Linked DNA regions of Homo sapiens: region 2 is linked to region 1. Evidence: promoter capture Hi-C in human tissues and cell types (Jung and others, 2019). All regions are on one chromosome and are shown on one strand. Each heading gives the region's core, a stretch centred on a gene start or on the middle of the fragment in contact. The rest is flanking DNA. Distances are from core to core; before and after follow the strand shown.

The links. The method cuts DNA at HindIII sites, captures the fragments that hold promoters and counts their contacts. A contact is called where the count stands out against the background at its distance.
Region 2: a fragment that was not itself captured here is called in contact with the fragment with the promoter of CWH43 in region 1 in 2 of the 25 tissues and cell types used here (dorsolateral prefrontal cortex and mesenchymal stem cells).

What each region holds. Positions count from the first base shown.
Region 1 is chr4:48,984,948-48,987,647 of GRCh38, reverse strand. CWH43 (cell wall biogenesis 43 C-terminal homolog) reads right to left here and starts at 1,373. Exons shown (of 16, transcript NM_025087.3): 1 at 1,176-1,373. The coding sequence starts at 1,218. The HindIII fragment of the contact is 14,941 bases long and covers 1-2,700 here.
Region 2 is chr4:48,604,453-48,607,152 of GRCh38, reverse strand. It overlaps FRYL (FRY like transcription coactivator), which reads left to right. Exons shown (of 64, transcript NM_015030.2): 10 at 547-715; 11 at 1,320-1,412. Among named protein-coding and RNA genes, the nearest start is that of ZAR1, 120 kb to the right of the region's middle. The HindIII fragment of the contact is 7,255 bases long and covers 1-2,700 here.

The sequences.
Region 1 (2,700 bases), core at 124-2,623:
ACCATCTGTCTCATTCCTTATACAGCCCCATAAGCTATGAGGTGGGTACTATTTCCGCTCCCCTCTTATAAATGCAAAAACTAACTAAGCAAGAACAAAACAACAAACAAAACACTGAGACTCAGAAAGTTAAGTGAGTACCTAAGGTTACACAAGTAGCAAATGTCAGAGTTGCCCTAACTCTAAGCAGCCTGGCTCCAAAGGTAGCCGGTCTAACCACTGGGCGTGGGAACTTTCTACCAACTGACTTTCCAACCTCCCCTTCTTAATCAGCAAAATAGGACTTTCAACCCCTTCACAGTGTTGTTGGGAGGATTAAATGAGATCAAGTGCACTGAGTACCTAGCACCTGAGGTACTTATTGAATGCTAGGCACTGTACATCTCCCAACTTATAGATACAGGCTGAGCCAGAAAAAAATAGTCTGAAGCACTCCCGAGAATTACCAGCTCCCAGAAAATCAAGTTCTCAGGAAGGCGCCCCACCCAGACCAGAGGGATCTTTGTTTTGTAACGAACCGGGGATTCTAGCAATATCCCAAATGTTTGTCTGGGAACTTTGATTTTATTACTCACACAGCTCCGACAGAATTACACCAATAAAATTGTCCTCGGGATTTTGCAAAGCTGGTGAGAGAGCAGATGAGACTCGAGTCTGATGCTTTTCGCCAAATGCCCAAGTGTGCAGCCGACACCAAGGCCACTTGTCCTGGGCCCAGCCCACGGCAGCAGCTGCCGCCCAGTGTCCACCTACAGCTCCTGGGGAAAACGGGTGCCCCTTTCCTTCTGAATTTTAAAGTTCAGCACTGAACTGTATTAAGTTAAACTTAAAGGCCACGGGTGGGGGGCTTTGGGGACGGTACCGGCCGCGCGGGGTCAAGGCCGACACGAGGAGAATTCGCGCTCCTTGGGCACAATCCCAGGGCTGCTGGGAACTCGGGCGACGGGGTCTCTCGCGGGCGCCTCGCAGACTCAGCTTGAAGACTTCAATCTAGGTCTTTTCCTTTATTCCCTTCAGTAGGAAAAGTTCCCAGGGGACGATAAGCATCTCCACTCTGGGCACGGAGCGCCCTTTTCCTCCTACCTGAACTCAGCCAACCTGGCCTGGCTCCACGGCTCTGGACATGGCCCGGGGAGCTGGCACCCGCGAACTCGCGGCGAGGGGCTTCGGCTTACCCAGCAGCGACTCCAAGAGGATTTCTCTCCACAGCGAGGGCATCGCCGCGGCGAGGGGCAGCGCTTTCCAGGAAAGCCGTGCGGGTCGGGCCCGCTGCCCTAGCCCTGCGCCCCCAGGTTCCCGCCGCCGCGTCCTCCCGGGCCTGCGTCCGCGCCCCTCGTTCCCGCGTCCCGTTGCCAAGTGAGCCCCAGCCAACTGACCCACTTGCCGAACCGAGGCAGTGTGGGGCCGGTCCGCCCGCCCCTTCACGACCACACCCAGCCTCGCCTGCCAGAGCCTGGCCAGGCCGGGCGCCACCTGTGCGCGTTGCGCCGCCTCCGGCGCCTCTGGTCCCCGCCTTTGCCTCCTTGGCGCGAGCCCCAGCGGCACCCTTGGCCGGTGCAGGGGACATGCGTCTCGGCTCTGACTCTGCTATTGGGCCCGAACCCGAAGCAACCCCGGGGATGCAGCGCTGCCAGAGCCCAGGAGGGAGCGAACAAGTGCAACTCCGGACCAGTGGTGCCCTCGTTTAGACTAGGCCCACGGGGTGCTCTGCGAGGAGAAGGCAGAGAGGAAGGACCGCTGGAGACCCAGATGGGGACCCTGGAGGAGCAGGTCCTGTGCACCAGCTCCAGCGCCCTGGAAGCCTTAGGGGACCACGGGGCGCGAACCCGACTGTGGCGATCTTCAGGCCAGGGCGACGCATCGGAAGCGTGCCGGCAGGGCCAGGGCCACTGCTGGGCCACTCTCAGCTTTGATAGTAAAAGTGCAATTTGTTAATTGCCTCCTAGCAAAGGGGCCCAAAATTCCAGCGGCTGCAAGATATTCTCAGGGGAGAGAAAGTAACTGATGCGAGTGGAAACCCGGCCCTCCCCTAGTTTATGAATAATGATATTTGAGAGTGCTTATCCCTAAAAAGAAGGTGGGAGACGTTCTGATTAATGTGGAGAGTGAACTAGGCCAGCTATTTCTCGCTCAAATGTATCACACTCCTGGATGTCTTGAACTTGTTTAAGAACCCCTGAAAGCAATTTATTTTAATGCACTTTAATTTCTTAAGGAGAGCTTATTATTTATCAGTTCCAGAAAGTTTGCTCTGAAATTAAACAATGATGGCATGCCCAAAAAGTATTAGAATCACATTAGCAGCAATCATTGCTATTAAGTCCATAGGAGTATTGAGCAAAGAGTTTTTTTCTGTTTTGTTGTGTTTGAGACGGAGTCCTGCTCTGTAGCCCAGGCTGGAGGGCGGTGGCATAATCTCGGCTCACTGCAACCTCCGCCTCCTGGGTTCAAGCGATTCTCCTGCCTCAGCCTCTCGCGCAGCTGGGACTACAGGCACGTGCCACCACACCCAGGTAATTTTTGTATTTTTAGTAAAGACGGGGTTTCACCATATTGGCCAGGCTGGTCTCAAACTCCTGACCTCATGATCCGCCCTCCTCGGCCGCCCAAAGTGCTGGGATTACCAGCGTGAGCCACCGCGCCTGACCAAGTAAACAGTTCTTAATCGGTTAATTACTAGCTCTCTCAATCTCAAGGGTA
Region 2 (2,700 bases), core at 182-2,681, 380 kb after region 1:
TACTAGCTTTAACAATTGTGATTTGAATCCAGGATGATGCTCACATTTCAAAAGCCTTTTGGCAGTGTAATGATGTATTGATTTTAAGTGATAATTAGTACTGTATGATTGATTGGCTTATCTCTGTGAACAAATTTATAGTCTCCAATATGCTCTCCATATAACTAATTGCAGACTTTATATAAAAAGAGCCTTAAAAGTTGGAGACACTGATTTACATGGTGGCGTTTTGTGGGTTGGTTATTTGATATTATTCTATTATGGTTATTAATTAAATGGTAATGGTGGTGTCTTGATAATATTATAGGAATAAAGAAATCCTATTATTTCTCCTTCAGAAACTTTTAATTTAATTTTAAAAGAAATGAACAGCAAATTTAGAGTAGCAATTTTTATTTTCCTCTGTGTGCCTTTCTGGCAATTGTAATGAAGGTAGAGAAAGGAGATGATATTTAGGTAGCATACCTTTTGATTTTTACCCTTAAATATCATGTGGAAATTAGTGTTTTTAATTCAAATCAAATGATGTCTCCACGTATATTAAAGGTTTCAGGCTGTAAGGAAGAAGTTTGTGACAGAATTAAAAGAACTGCGACAAAAGGAACAAAGCCCACATGTGGTACAAAGTGTCATCAGCTTAATAATGGGAATGAAATTTTTTCGAGTAAAAATGTATCCTGTAGAAGATTTTGAAGCATCATTTCAATTTATGCAGGTGATATACCTTCTAAATGACAGTAAATAGAGCAAGCCTAACAGTCCTTGCTCTTCATGACTTTTTAAAAGAAACAAAATACACGTAAATTAATGGCATCATTTTTAGTCTCTTATTCCATGTGTTAAGTTGTTCTAAGTGTAAATTAATTTTTTTTTTTTCCTTGAGACAGAGTCTCACTCTGTCACCCAGGCTGGAGTGCAGTGGCATGATCTCGGCTCACTGCAACCTCCACCTTCCTGATTGAAGCGATTCTCCTGCCTCAGGCACCCGAGTAGTTGGGATTACAGGCGCCTGCCACCAGGCCCGGCTAATTTTTTTTTTTTTTTTTTTTTTTTTTCTTTAGTAGAGACGGGATTTCACCATGTTGGCCAGGCTGGTCTCCAACTCCTCACCTCAGGTGATCTGCCCGCCTCAGCCTCCCAAAGTGGTGGGATTACAGGTGTGAGCCACCGCACCCAGCCAGCTTTGTTTTTTGACTTGAAGATGCATTGACCTTAGTTTTTTGGTAAAATGACAGAGTGTTCACAAAATGATGTGATATTACAAATTCTTTAACCTTTCCTCTTTTGTTAATCTAAGTATATACCTCTTTCCCTTTAAGGAATGTGCTCAGTATTTCTTAGAAGTGAAAGATAAAGATATAAAACATGCACTTGCTGGTTTATTTGTGGAGATTCTTATCCCTGTAGCTGCTGTAAGTATTTTTCTTATTTTCATACCATTTGTGTGTTATACAAGAACCTTATCAACCTTATACTTTTATTTTTTGTCCTAAAAATACTTACATGACAATAAGCTGTGGCCATGGGAAGGCTCGTCTCATTTGCTCCCTGTTGCTCAGAGGTCTCTTCCTTTTGTTGATCATACAATGTTTTAGAGATCGTTTCATGTATTTTGTTTTTTGGTTGTTGCAGATGGTAGGGGAAATCCAGCTCCATCTTGGCTAGAAATGGAGATTAATTACATTCTTTTTGTTCAGATTTTATTCTAATTAAAATCTCAAAAATGAAGAAATGTATTACATGTTGAAAAATTGAACTGTTTTGGCTTTCATTTTTAAACATTGAATTCACTTACTTGTGACCTATGGGCTTATATGAATTGGTTTGTAGTATTCAGGTCCTACCTTTAGAGCATGTTTTGAAAAGGTGAACAGAGAATTGTTTTAAAAGTTAAGAATTTGAAATATTAATGAGAGTGATTGACGTGTTTTTTAAAACCTGTTTTGCATTGAAGATTTTTAAAAATGGGGACACACAAAACTCATAAATTAAAGGTTTGCAAGTGGTTTATTTGAGTTACACAGCCCCCGTTTCCTCCCACCCAGTTTTTAGCCATATGAATTGGGCTCATTTTATAAAAAAGAAAACAGGCTATCATGTATAAGTCATGTCAGTTTTAGTCTTTTATTAGATATGCACTTTGATTTCTTTTCCTGTAAGTTGTTTGAATTACTGTTTATCCCTTCCAAATGATCATTTGTACTTCACCCTTTGTTTGATCATCCTTTTTTTTTCTCCCAGATGGCTGAGATTAGGTTTTAGTTTTTAAGGCAGTTCGTCAAAAGGAGCAGGTTGTAGGAAGAGAGGCACTTGACAATGGTCCATTATCATCGTGTTGCCTGATTCTTTTATACCATATTTGCTTTTGTGTCCAGGTTTATTAGCCTGCTAGGACAGCCGTAATAAAGTACTGCAAACTGGATAGCTTAACAACAGAAATGTATATTGTCTCATATTTACGGAGGCTAGAGTGTGAGATCAAAGTGCCAGCAGGTTGGTTCCTTCTAAGAGCTGTGAGGAGGAACCTGCTCCATGCCCCTTGCTTAGCCTCTTGTGTGCACTGAAAATCTTTTGTGTTTCTTGGCTTGTAGAAGCATGGTTCTGAATCCTGCCTTCATTGTCACATGGCATTCTCCTTGAGTGTATGTCTGTGTCCAAATTTCCCCTTTTTAAAAGGACACCAGTCATGTGGATTAGGGT